Linked DNA regions of Homo sapiens: region 1 is linked to region 2. The links are contacts of gene promoters, found by promoter capture Hi-C in human tissues and cell types (Jung and others, 2019). All regions are on one chromosome and are shown on one strand. Each heading gives the region's core, a stretch centred on a gene start or on the middle of the fragment in contact. The rest is flanking DNA. Distances are from core to core; before and after follow the strand shown. Region 1 holds the start of LOC105372460 (a long non-coding RNA gene). Region 2 holds the start of LILRA2 (leukocyte immunoglobulin like receptor A2).

What was found. Contacts are between HindIII fragments. The study calls those that stand out against the background at their distance.
Region 1: a contact is called between a fragment that was not itself captured here and the fragment with the promoter of LILRA2 in region 2, in 2 of the 25 tissues and cell types used here (lymphoblastoid cells and spleen).

The regions. Positions count from the first base shown.
Region 1 is chr19:54,522,219-54,528,320 of GRCh38, forward strand. It overlaps LOC105372460 (a long non-coding RNA gene), which reads right to left and starts at 4,892. Exons shown (of 4, transcript XR_001754038.3): 1 at 4,696-4,892; 2 at 4,342-4,546. The HindIII fragment of the contact is 4,451 bases long and covers 972-5,422 here.
Region 2 is chr19:54,568,413-54,575,195 of GRCh38, forward strand. LILRA2 (leukocyte immunoglobulin like receptor A2) reads left to right here and starts at 5,378. Exons shown (of 8, transcript NM_001130917.3): 1 at 5,378-5,500; 2 at 5,664-5,699; 3 at 5,889-6,170; 4 at 6,319-6,621. The coding sequence starts at 5,467. LOC107985347 (a long non-coding RNA gene) reads right to left here and starts at 4,416. Exons shown (of 2, transcript XR_002958419.2): 1 at 4,324-4,416; 2 at 979-2,881. It overlaps LOC105372461 (a long non-coding RNA gene), which reads left to right. Exons shown (of 3, transcript XR_936073.3): 3 at 3,006-3,300. The HindIII fragment of the contact is 16,909 bases long and covers 1-6,783 here.

The sequences.
Region 1 (6,102 bases), core at 1,947-4,446, 48 kb before region 2:
GAAAACAAGTTAGACAGTGACAGAGAATGTGAAACAGATATTGAGAGAGATTCGCAAACATAGACAATGCCTCCTCCTGACCTCTCACCTGTGTCCTCAATGCCTCCTCCTGACCTCTCACCTGTGTCCTCAGTGCATCCTCCTGACCTCTCACCTGTGTCTTCAGTGCCTCCTCCTGACCTCTCACCTGTGTCCTCAGTGCCTCCTCCTGACCACTCACCTGTGTCCTCAAACATCACTTCCTCATGACTCCCTTTCCGCAACAGAAGAGCTATGCCAGTCTATTTTCTAATCACCCACAGCCAAGGAATGATTCCACATACGAATGTCATAGTGCGTAGTTACCTGTTTTGTAGTTATTTCTAGACATCTATCACATCCCCTAGACTAGCAGGGCTCACAGGACAGGATCCATGTCAGTGAAGCGTATGCTTTATTTTTCATTCTTGGTTAATTGTATGAAATAAGGTTGACATTTATAGACATATGCTGGCAGAATGGATGGAAGCATGGATGGACTATAAATGGACAGACACAGAGGGAAGAGTTGATGATGTATTCAGTATTCAAATGCACACTTAAAATCTGTCGTATATCAAGCCAGCAACCTCTCCTGCTGCTTTCCCCCTTGAATTCTGGGATATTCAGCTCTGCTCTCAGTTTCCTGGCTCAGGGATTTCCTCCTTGTCCATTTTGCCCAGGTGAGACGCACACAGAGATCACAAACTCAGATCAGCCTGACAAATCCTAAAGCAAAATCATACCTGCAGCATTGACTATATAATCCACTGGACCCCATGCAAAATGAAAATAGAGGGCCCCATGTTCAAACATCAAGATGTCAACACGAGGGCATTAAACTCAGCTTGGAACTCTGATGGCACGGCTCCTGGACAGTGAAGCCAGCCCTGCACAGAGACATAAGCAATTGGGGGATTGCACACAGCATATACCAGGCACCTCGAGATCCCAGAGCTGCATGCACCCAACACACGCCAGGTATTCCAGATGCATCAGACAGAAAGTGCCCCTGGAGGTGATGGTTGCAGATCTGGGGGCCTCCAAAGCCCACTTCGCCACTCTCTGCTTCAGTCGTCATACTGGACATGGACTGTGTCCCTGCACAGACCCTGTGTATACCTAGTCCGTTCACTGCACTGCAGGGACTCAGACTTGGTAACTGAGTGTATGAATGTGTATGAATGAAAATAGCATGTTGATTGTGTTGGATTATCTTTACTTAACAAAGTGGCATGCAGTTTTATGAAGTTTTAAATGGAATAAATAGTGACGTCTTCACATAAGCCTCCTTAGGAAGTGACTAATATCACCCACGCTTACAGGATGAGGAGGTTGAGCTTCACAGCTTGTGCAGCAGGCTGAGAGTCACGGAGCAAACAGGCCGCAGATCCTGGAATGAGCCCAGGCTGGCAGAGGTCAGAACCCAGTCTTGTGACCACAATGCTTTGCCACCTGTGTTAGCTTCCTGGGGCTGTCCTAACAAAGTCCTGCAATCTGCGTGGCTTAACACCACAAAATCAATTCACTTATAATCCTGGGAAGTAGAAGTTTGCAAGTAAGGTGTCAAGGAGGCCATGCCCACTCTGTAGGTTCTAGGAAAGAATCCTTCCACATCCCCCCCACCTTTTTTTTTTTTTTGAGACAGAGTCTTGCTCTGTCACCCAGATCTGTGGAGCGATCTTCTCTCACTGCAACCTGCACATCCTGGGTTCAAGTGATTCTCATGCCTCAGCCTCCCGAGTAGCTGGGACTACAGGTGTGCACCACCACACCTGGCTAATTTTTGTATTTTTTTAATTTAATTTTTTTTTGAGAGAGAGTTTCACTCTTGGCATCCAGGCTGGAATGCAATGGTGAGATCTTGGCTCACTGCAACCTCTGCCTCCTGGGTTCAAGTGATTCTCCTGCCTCAGCCTCCCAAGCAGCTGGGACTACAGGCATGCGCCATCATGCCCAGCTAATTTTTGTATTTTTAGTAGAGATGGGGTTTCACCAGCTGGTTTTGGCCAGGCTGGTTTCAAACACGTGATGTCAAGTGATCTGCCCACCTTGGCCTCCCAAAGTGCTGGCATTACAGGTGTGAGACACTTCCTGGCCCCAAATCATTCATTCATTCATTTATTCATTCTTCATTGAGTCATTCGGTAATTCCCCGTATAGTTACTAATCACTAAATGTGTGCCAAGTACGGGGCTCCTCACTTCGTACAATTACGGTATATTGTAGACACAAAGAGTGTCTTCATGGTGGGAACTGGAGGAGAAACAATGAAAAAGTGGAGAAATAGAAATAAATGACATCAATGATAAATTTTATGAAAGAAAATGTTAAAACTAAACCATGAAAACTAATACAGAAGCCTACTTGCCTACGGTGGTAAGGAAAGAAATCTTGGAGCTGGTGATATTTGCACTCAACAGTGATATGAGGTGTGGGGAGAGGGATGGAAGTTGAGATAGAGAGAAGAGCACGTGCAAAAGTCCTGGGGTGAGGGAAATGTGAAGGATCCATTTCTTTTGCTGTAAATAAGACAACATACTGTCCTGAGTGTACGTGGGTATTTATAAAGTAATAATATTTATCTAAAACTTGGAGTGAAGTATCTGAATGAACGTATGCTTCGAGTAAGGGTTATAAACCATTGTGTCTATTTATGTACAGATGAGAATACCACATATTCCAGCCCTGCCGTGAAGGAAAGGTGGAATCAGAGATGAGGAATCTTCAGCTCAGATAGGAGACACACAGAAAGGTTTGCATGTGGAAGTGCCAGCCTGTCAACCTCTCCAGAGGCTCCAGAAGTGAGGCCAGAATTTTGATGATAGGAGATAGACTTTGGAGGTCATCACCCACATCCCCTGTCATGGTCACTGTCATTGTCCCTATTCCAGGCAGTCAGAAGGAAAAATGAAGGATGAACATAATGCGTTGGGTTCAATGGGCCAGGGCTGGAAGCAGCCACCTCTCCTGGGCAAAGCCTCAATTTCACAGATCTTCTCAGGTGAGAATTGAATCACTGCAAATGAAAAGCTTGCCCTTGGGTTGTGTCGACAGGTTTGAAGCAGGCAGGGAAATCTATTCATGGCAGAGATATAAACGGTCCCTTTATTCTATGGGTGGATGTGGATCAAGAATTCTAGACACACAGGGTGAAGCCTGTGTCCAAACTAATAGGACCTTCACACTGTTTTCAGCATGGAGAGCTCACAAGTATTGGAGGATTGGGAGAATGGGGTGTCTAGAATAACGTAAAGCAACAGGAAGCTTGATTCACCCAGATGGGTAACCTGAGCATATGCCCTCCTATGGATCAGCTCAGGAATTCCACGCTGGCTTCAACACAAAGGCCTTTTCACCCGTGCTTGCTAACATTCAGATTCCCATTAAAGATGTGTGTTTTTAATTAATCATTTCAAATAAAACCTTGACATTATTTTGCATTAATTTTTCATGTTTAAGTAATTGGTTTAATCGAGAAACGGAAGTGCATGAGGCAGATACTAAGTTAGTTAGGTCATTGCAAATATTTAGTTGGACTTTTATCATCCCTCGGCCTCAGATTTTCTGAAGCCTCTGATGCCGTTCACCCCTCTGACCTACGTGAAAGTAGCTCTTATCTTGTTCACCTTTTGGACCTTGTTTCAAAAGTAATGATAGAAATGAGCAGTCCAGTTGAGAAAACAAGATACTCTGGGAGGGTAGGTGCTGAAAATTCTTGGAGAAACCAAAGCTGAAGACAAGACTCTCAATCAATTGATCTTGGCAAGGAATTGTGTTTTCTCTCTTCACTGTTTAATACTGGTCAATACAATTATGGATGTTTTGATCTGGAGTGATTCTTTGTTAACATCTCTCGTATTCATCCAGAGAATGTAAATAAGGGCATAAAACAAATGTAAATATTCCTATGATAAAATAATTATTCTGCTATGGAGAATATTGGATCTTGCTCCTTAGCGTGGGTTATTTGGGTGAAACACTGAGAAACATGAATGTCAAAGAGTCCTACACTGTGAAACCCCGTCTCTACTAAAAATACACACACACACACTCACACACACAAATTTGCCGGGCGTGGTGGTGGGCGCCTGTAGTCCCAGCTACTCAGAAGGCTGAGGCAGGAGAATGGTGTGAACCCGGGAGGCGGAGCTTGCAGTGAGCCGAGATCGCGCCACTGCACTCCAGCCTGGGGGACAGAGTGAGACTCCGTCTCAAAAAAAAACAAAAACAAAAACAAAAAAACAGTCCTAAGCTTTCTAGGACCAAGGAAGCAGCTACTCACTCGCAATCGCTAGAGTGTTCCCATCTTCCAACACCCACCTTGATTTTCTCTAGTCCAGCAATGAGTCAGGTCTCAGCATGGTCGAAGCAGGGAAGGAGCATCTCATGCTGCTTTCCTTGTGGTCATACCTTGCCAATGCCACTTCCAGAGGCAGGTTTTTCATTCCTTCTTTCAGCTTTCAGGGTCTGGATACTCTGAGGACACTGGTTTTGCCTCTGTGCATTGATGAATGCCTCCGTTAATCTGCAAGTGAAGAGTAAGGAAATTGCTTTTCACACATTACTTAGAGGGCTTTTGGTACTGTCAGCGAAGGACACTTGTCTGATGATATCGATGTCAACCACAACTTGCAAAATATCCCATAGACTCAAATTTTAGGAAACTATTCTAACCAAAGCTCATCATCTGAAAGCTGTTGCTCTATGCACAGGGTCCTGGGCTTCTCTGTGTGTGGCTCTTCCCCCCACACAGGAGACCCATCCTCTCGTGAGATCTTCACCCTGCGCAGGAGACCCGTCCTCTCCCGAGATCTTCGCCCCGCGCGGGAGATCCGGCCTCTCCCGAGATCTTCACCCCACGTAGGAGACAGGTCCTCTCGCGAGATCATCACCCCATGCAGGAGACCCGTCCTCTCGCGAAATCTGCACCCCTAGCATGAGATTCCCTCCTATCGCGAGATCTTCACCCAACTCAAGAGACCCGTCCTCTCCCGAGATCTTCAAGGCACGCGGAAGACCCGTCCTCTCGCGAGATCTTCCATGCGATGGCTCCTGCCTCTGCTCATATCCAAACTCCTCCTCAGCCAGGTGTCTGATGACTCCACTGCCATCATCCCAGAAATTTGTTCCTAGAGAACACAAACAAATTTCTTCTCTATTCTTCATACCAAAGAAAATACTATGATATTTCTGCATGTTTATATTATTGTTAAGTGAACGGCAGTAATTGCTTATCTTCCAAAACGAAGAGCTGAGTAATGATATATCTTTAAACTCCATCCTTTTGACAGTGATTGAAATGGACAAAACAGTAGAAAGTAGAGCTGATATGTGTGATCACTTTTAATGACACAGATTAACAGTGAAAACCACAAAGACCTGTGGTACTTGTATCTAGGTAGTAGAACATTGGCCTGTAAACACAGCACTTCGGGAGGCCGAGGCAGGTGGATTGCCTGAGGTCAGGAGTTCGACACCAGCCTGCACAACATGGCGAAACCCCGTGTCTACTAATGATACAAAAAATTAGCTGGGCATGGTGGTGCAAACCTGTAATCCCAGCTACTCGGGAGGCTGCCAGATCCAGCCACGAGACACCTTTCAAAAAAAAAAAAGAACTTGGTGTATAAGATAATTTTTACACTGCCATAAAGAACTACCTGAGACTGGGTAATTTATGAAGAAGAGAGGTTTAATTGACTCACAGTTCCACAGACTTAACAGGAAGCATGACTGGGAGGCCTCAGGAAACTTACAATCATGGCGGATGTTGAAGGGGAAGCGGGGACCTTCTTCTCATGGCTGCAGGATAAAGAGAGAACCAGGGGAGACGTGTCACACTTTCAAACCACCAGCTCTTGTGAGAACTCATGATCATGAGAACAGCAAGTGAGAAATCTGCCCCCATGATCCAATCATCTCTCACTGGGCCCCCCTCCAATACATGGAAACTGCAATTCTAGATGAGATTTGGGAGGGGACATAGCCAAATCATATCATTTTGCCCCTGGCCCCTCCCAAATCTCGTGACCTTCTCACATTTCAAAACCAATCATGCCTTCCCAACAGTTCCCAAAGTCT
Region 2 (6,783 bases), core at 4,128-6,627:
TAGATAGCAAGATAAGTAGATATAGATATGCACATATGTACATATATCGGTTCTGTTTCTCTGGAGAACACTTACAAATACATAATTTGATCATAGGAATGATTCTAGATGAACTGAATCTTAATATGTTTTGTCTACTGTTTCTGAGGTTTATGGAACTGGCTGTCTGATTAGATTTAAAGACATTAAGACAGTATGACAGAAACAGAAAGAGAAAGAAAGAGAAAGGAAGAAAGGAAGGAAGGAAGAAGGAAGGAAGGAAGTCTGTGATAGTCCGTGGCATGATGTGGCATTAGGGGTACACCACTAGATGCTCCTAATCCTACACTTATAAGGAACGAGAATCTGGGTGGCCTTGCATACACCTTTGAAGATTGTTGTCAAACTATTAAGTATAGTATGTGTGGCTGTTTTGTCATTGGATAAAGAGGTAAAGAAAAAGATGAGCCCAGAGATTAGAATTTCCAGTTCAAGCACCACTACATAAATATCTGAGGTTTCTATGTGTGCCCTGAAAGAGACTCTTATCATCTGTAGCTGTAGGGGTGAGATTGCTGAAAATCAAACCGAGAATCTCATCCTTGAAGTGGCTGTATTACAATTCAAGCGGAGTCCCCAGCCTCACAGGGTATCTACTGTTCAAGTAATGCCATTGGTCAGGAATGGGTGAGATCTTGAAAGATGGAATGAGGATGTATATTAAGACCCTGATACAGCTGAGGATATCAAGCCCCTAACTTTGAATGAGTCTTCTTTGCCAATAGAAGCATCCTCTCTATCTGCAAGGGAGGAGATTAACCCTGTACTGTCTGAGGAAACAATACTGGCCTCCCCTGAGGCAGTTGCCATGCAAGGCTATGCTGATTCTCCTTAGGATACATCCTGACCAACCCTCTTTGCTTCTAGACCTATAACTAGATTCAAGTCTCGCAGGCCCTGAAAAGTGTGTTACAAAGTGTGGCTCATGAGAAGTTGTGCTACACTCCAAAGTAATTTATTTATTTTTCTAATTTATCCATACAGAAGTCTGAGGAACACGTGTCAGAGTGGATATTAAGGGTTTAGGATAATGGTGAAAAGAACATAAAGTTGAGTCGGACCGAATTTATATATATAAGCTCACTAAACAGAGATTGCACATTTAATGTTGCATCTTGGAGAACCGGAAATGATTCTACCAGTTTGTCTGGTTGATTGGCTGAAACATGGAGCAAAAGCTGGCCTGCAGTAAATAAACTCAAAATGCCAGACATGCCTTGGTTTGCTGCAGAGGAATTAACTTAAAGGCTTAGGAAGACTGTAATGTTACCATGCATGTATCAAACCTAGTAACCCACATTGGAAGCATCAGAAGATGTATCTTTCAACAATATTGCAAAGGGAGCTCTGGCATCCTTGAGGAGCTCTGTGATTTCTCTTCTCTGGAAGCTGGAACCTACAGTGGAACTGCTGAATTTTAAAAAATCTAAATGTAATGGGAGTAATTTGGCCCCTACCTCTTGGCCCCCAGAGAGACAGGGGCCAAGTAGAGGAACTCAGCCACCAAAGGCAAGGTGGGTTTGGTTACCATGATGGACAGCAAAGTCAAACCAGCGATCGGAATAGTCCCGCAGACTTATGGTGTTGGCTAGTTGATCACGGCATTCTAACAAGGGAGATAGATAGGAAACCTACTAAATTCTCACTTGATCTGTATAAGCAGAAAATTTCTATGTCAAGTGAACAAAAGTCAACCCAAATCATAAAAGCAGAGAGCCACAGTCTCTCAATCAATGGCTAGCACTGAGTCAGTTCATAGAGCCAGAATCCCCTGAATTAAAGGGATCCCAGGCAGGGTTCCCGTGAGGGCACTGTCCCTGGTACACTACCAAGAATATATACTCTTAATCTTTCTCCTGGACTTTGGTTAAAGGGACCTGCAGCCTTTTACAATGGCAATGGAGCCTTGGGGAAAATAATCAGATAATTTGGGCATTACTGGAAATGGGGTATGAACTGACATTAATTCCAGGAGACCCGAAACGTCACTGTGGCCCTCCAGTCAGAGTAGTGGCTGCTAGAGGCAAGGTGATTGGTGGAGTTTGAGCTCACGTGTTCCATAGTGAATCCAGTGTATCCCTAAACCCACCCTGTGGCTGTATCCCCAGTTCCAGAGGGCAACATTGGAATAGACATATTCAACAACTATCACAACCCCCACAGTGGTTCCCTCACTTGTTGAGTGAGGGTTATTAGAGTGGGCCCAGTGGGAGCCACTAGAACTGCCTCTTCCCAGCTAAACTGTAAACCAAAAGCAGTCTTGCATTCCTGGAGGAATTCCATATATTGGGACTTGAAGCGTGCAGAGACAGTGATTCCCACAACCTTGCCATTCACCTCTCCTATTTTACCTCCACAGAAGACGCAGGGATCTTGGATAATGATATTAGATTATTGTAAGCTTAATCAGATCCAATTGAAGATGTTGTAACAGATGTGGTTTTGTAGTTTGAGCAAATTAATACATCCCCTGATACCCAGTATTCAGCCATTGATGTGTTAAATATTTTTTTCTCCATCACTGTTAATAAGAACCATCAGGAACAGTTTCCTTTCATTTGGCAAGGGCATCAGTACACCTTCACAGTCCTACCTCAGGGTCTGGGAAAGCACCTGGGGGTTGTGATCGGGGTCTCAGTGGCCTTCAGCTGGTGCTCTTCCTCCTCTTCTTTCTCCTCTGACACTGGCCTCAGGGCCAACACAGGACATTGGGTGAGTAGGAAGTTGGCGGGGAGACCCATGGGCTGACTGAAGGTGGGGTCAGGGCACCACCAACCAGACAGATTCCAGATGGGAAAGTTCAGCTCAGAAAAACGGCTCCAGCATTTCCCAGTGAGAAAACCTAGAAAGAAGAGAATAAATGTGAACATACATGAACATACCTTATTCTTTTGGTTGTTTCATCTAACGACGTTTTTAAAACATCTATGCAAGTGTGTTTTCAGCTTTCCTTCTTTTCTCTTGAGTTCTCTGTGCAGGGCAGGTGGCTCTCATGATCCCAAGGCTGAAGCTCTGTCCCTCTTCACCCAGCCCAGAGGGAGGCTGATTTCCAAAGTCCTGTGGGGACTGTGGAGTCAGAGAACGACAGAGGCCTGTGGAGGAGGTAATTCTGCCCGAAGACCCCAGACGCCCACCTACCCCCACAACCTCCTCACTGGCCCTCACACTCCCATGTCCTTCCCCGGGTCCAGCCCAGCTGCTGATGTCCAGGAAGAAAACTTCTGTGACAGGAAGAGGGGGGCACCTGAGGGTGGAGACAGAAGCCCCAAAGTTTCGGTAGCAATGATAGCAGGGGAAAAGGCTGAGAAGGGCTTGGGACTCTTTTATATAATATATAAATTAATATAAAAATTAATTCACCTTCACAATGTCTGTCTAATGCATTTCAACAACTGTCTGTGTTTTCCTCATGTATCTTGGTTGTCATTCCTGTGGGGCGGCTCCTCCCACGCACCTGACCTTTCATAAAGGGTTTCTCCCACGGCTGTCCAGGCATCAGCCTGATGAAGGGGATTGTTGCCGCTGCTCCTCCCCACTCCCCCAAACTCAGTGTCAGCTCAAGATTGTGCCCAGCAGGGATGGGACCAACGCCAGTCTCACACTCACCTGTGGGGCAGAGCAGACGCCCATGTCAGACCACCGTGGATTGAATCTGTTTCTCACACACAGGGGAGGGGCTGAGCACTGACCATGGCCTCCAGTGAGTGAGCAGAGACCCCCCAGCGCCTGTCCACACACACAGGGGAGGGGGAGCCACAGCTTCCAGCGTCACCCAGAGCCCTGACCCCTCCCTGCCTGGGAGGACGTGGGGTTCCTCTTCTGTCCCACACGGAGGTGGGAGCCTCCTCCTCCCTAATGACCCTGGGTGGTCCCAGACACCTGTGGCCACTCAGCATTGAACTCTGCTCATGGAAGGGGATGCGTCTCAATGTGAGGAACTGTTCTTCCTCTTTCTGTGCCCGTGGCTGTGATGATCTGCATATTTCAGATGTATCACAAGGAGAATTTCATGGTATTTGGAGCCGATGTGGGCTCTTGAGTGGGGGCGTCAATCATCCTCCTGGACTGTGGAGCCCAGCACCAGGATCCTCTCCCGTCCCCACCCTCCTGTCTGAACTGGTCTGGAAATTCACCATGGCTGAGCCTCCCATGTCCTGGGCACCACTGACCCCCACAGCCACTGTGATGAGTGGGGTTCACGACAGCAGGCTCAGAGGTGACATTCATGTCCAAAGTCACATAAACCCTGGATGATAATCAGGAATTAAATACAAATCAGCTCACCTTCCCCAGAATCAGATTACAGACCTAACAAATTCTTCTGAAAACTCTGAACATGGACGGAGGTGCCGAGGGAAGGCCAAGGACGCAAGGGACACTGAGGGGGCGGGACCGACTCAGAGCCTCATTCCCGGGGTGGGGGTGGGTGATGTTGCAACAAAGAGAAAAGGGGAAGTACAGGAGAGGGACGGTTTGGTAGGAAGGAAACACACACTCTCAAGACAGAACAAATATGTTTTATTATAGTTAATCCCTGCATTTCCCCTTTTGAGACAGGGTCTCACTCTGTCACTGAGGCTGGAATGCTAAGGGGTGATCATAGCTCCCTGCAGCCTCCGCCTCCCAGGCCGAAGTATTCCTCCCACCTCAGCCTCCTGAGTAGCTGGGACTAGAGATGTGAGCTGCCATGCCTGGCTAATTTTTTGCTTTTTTTATACAGACAAGGTCTTGCTATGTGGCCCAGGGTAATCTGAAGCTCCTGGCCTCTAGCCTTCACCCACCTCAGCCTCCTGAAGTGCTGGGATTCCAGGCATGAGCCACCATGGTAGACCCTGCATTACTCCTCTGTGCTCACTGCCACACGCAGCTCAACCTGAGCTACACAGCCAGGTGTCAGGTGCGTCTCTGCTGATCTGAGTCTAACTGCAGCATGGACCTGGGTTTTCCCTGAAGCATCTCCAGGGCTGGAGGGACGACCGCCATGGTAAGGACCCCGCAACGCTGAGCTGATGGACGGGCTGAAGGAGGGAGGGAGACCCCATGGGGAAGCTCTGAGAAGGAAGAGGAAGCCTCTGCTCACCCTCATCTGGAAGGGCAGACGCAGGAGGGCACCAGTTCTATTTGCTGCTACATCCCAGGTCTCAAGGAGATGAGGATAAACCAGACAGACAGTGGCTGGGGGGCAGGAAAGACCCCATTACAGTCTGAAATGTCTGCAGAGGGCCTGGTGCCTGCCCCCACCTCAGCCCTAAAGGTATGACAGCCAGGCTCCTGAGAGGGCAGTTGCACTTCCTGTGTGGTTGCACATAACAAAACCCCATGACAAGAAGGATCCAGCCTCCGAGTGTCCACACCCTGTGCGTCTCTCTGTCCTGCCAGCACTGAGGGCTCATCCATCCGCAGAGCAGGGCAGTGGGAGGAGACGCCATGACCCCCATCCTCACGGTCCTGATCTGTCTCGGTGAGATTTGAAGAGGGAGGGGAGCTTCTAACCTAGGAGGGACCTCACCCCACAGCCAAACTCTGGTCCCTAAGGAGACCCCAGGGGCTCACAAAGATCCCAGGGAGGGGAGGACCTGCCCAGGCTTCAGGGGAAAAATCCCTCACAGGGAACTCTCTTCCAGGGCTGAGTCTGGGCCCCAGGACCCACGTGCAGGCAGGTGAGTCTGTTCCCAGCTGTCCCAGGTCCCTCCTCCTCACTAGGGACAAGGGGCCACCCCCGTGCAGCTGGGGATGGGGAATAGCAGTTCTGGGCTGACTGATGGGGGTGTCTGGAGGGTCCTGCAGCTGAGAGCTGAGATCTGTTGGGTGGGAAATGACTTAGAATCCGACCTCTGATTTCCTTCCAGGGCACCTCCCCAAGCCCACCCTCTGGGCTGAGCCAGGCTCTGTGATCATCCAGGGAAGTCCTGTGACCCTCAGGTGTCAGGGGAGCCTTCAGGCTGAGGAGTACCATCTATATAGGGAAAACAAATCAGCATCCTGGGTTAGACGGATACAAGAGCCTGGGAAGAATGGCCAGTTCCCCATCCCATCCATCACCTGGGAACACGCAGGGCGGTATCACTGTCAGTACTACAGCCACAATCACTCATCAGAGTACAGTGACCCCCTGGAGCTGGTGGTGACAGGTGAGAGGACACTCAGGAGTCCCAGCCCCAGGCTCTGCCCTCAGGAAGGGGGTCGGCTCTCAGGGGCATCTCCGCTCTCACAGCTCAACCCTGGGGATGATGTGGGAGGTGGGAGCCCCATTTAACACAGTGCCTCCTTCTCTCCTAGGAGCCTACAGCAAACCCACCCTCTCAGCTCTGCCCAGCCCTGTGGTGACCTCAGGAGGGAACGTGACCCTCCAGTGTGTCTCACAGGTGGCATTTGACGGCTTCATTCTGTGTAAGGAAGGAGAAGATGAACACCCACAACGCCTGAACTCCCATTCCCATGCCCGTGGGTGGTCCTGGGCCATCTTCTCCGTGGGCCCCGTGAGCCCGAGTCGCAGGTGGTCGTACAGGTGCTATGCTTATGACTCGAACTCTCCCTATGTGTGGTCTCTACCCAGTGATCTCCTGGAGCTCCTGGTCCCAGGTGAGAAATTCACAGAATTGCTTGGAGTTCCCTGAGTCTCCCTGAGTCTCCAGGCAGGTGGGGAGCAGCCGCGTCTCAGGGCAGCTCCAGGTGGGATGATGTTGGGGCGAGAGGGCTCAGGGCTCCTGGGGCCGGAGACACAGGAAGATCAGCGGGGGAGAG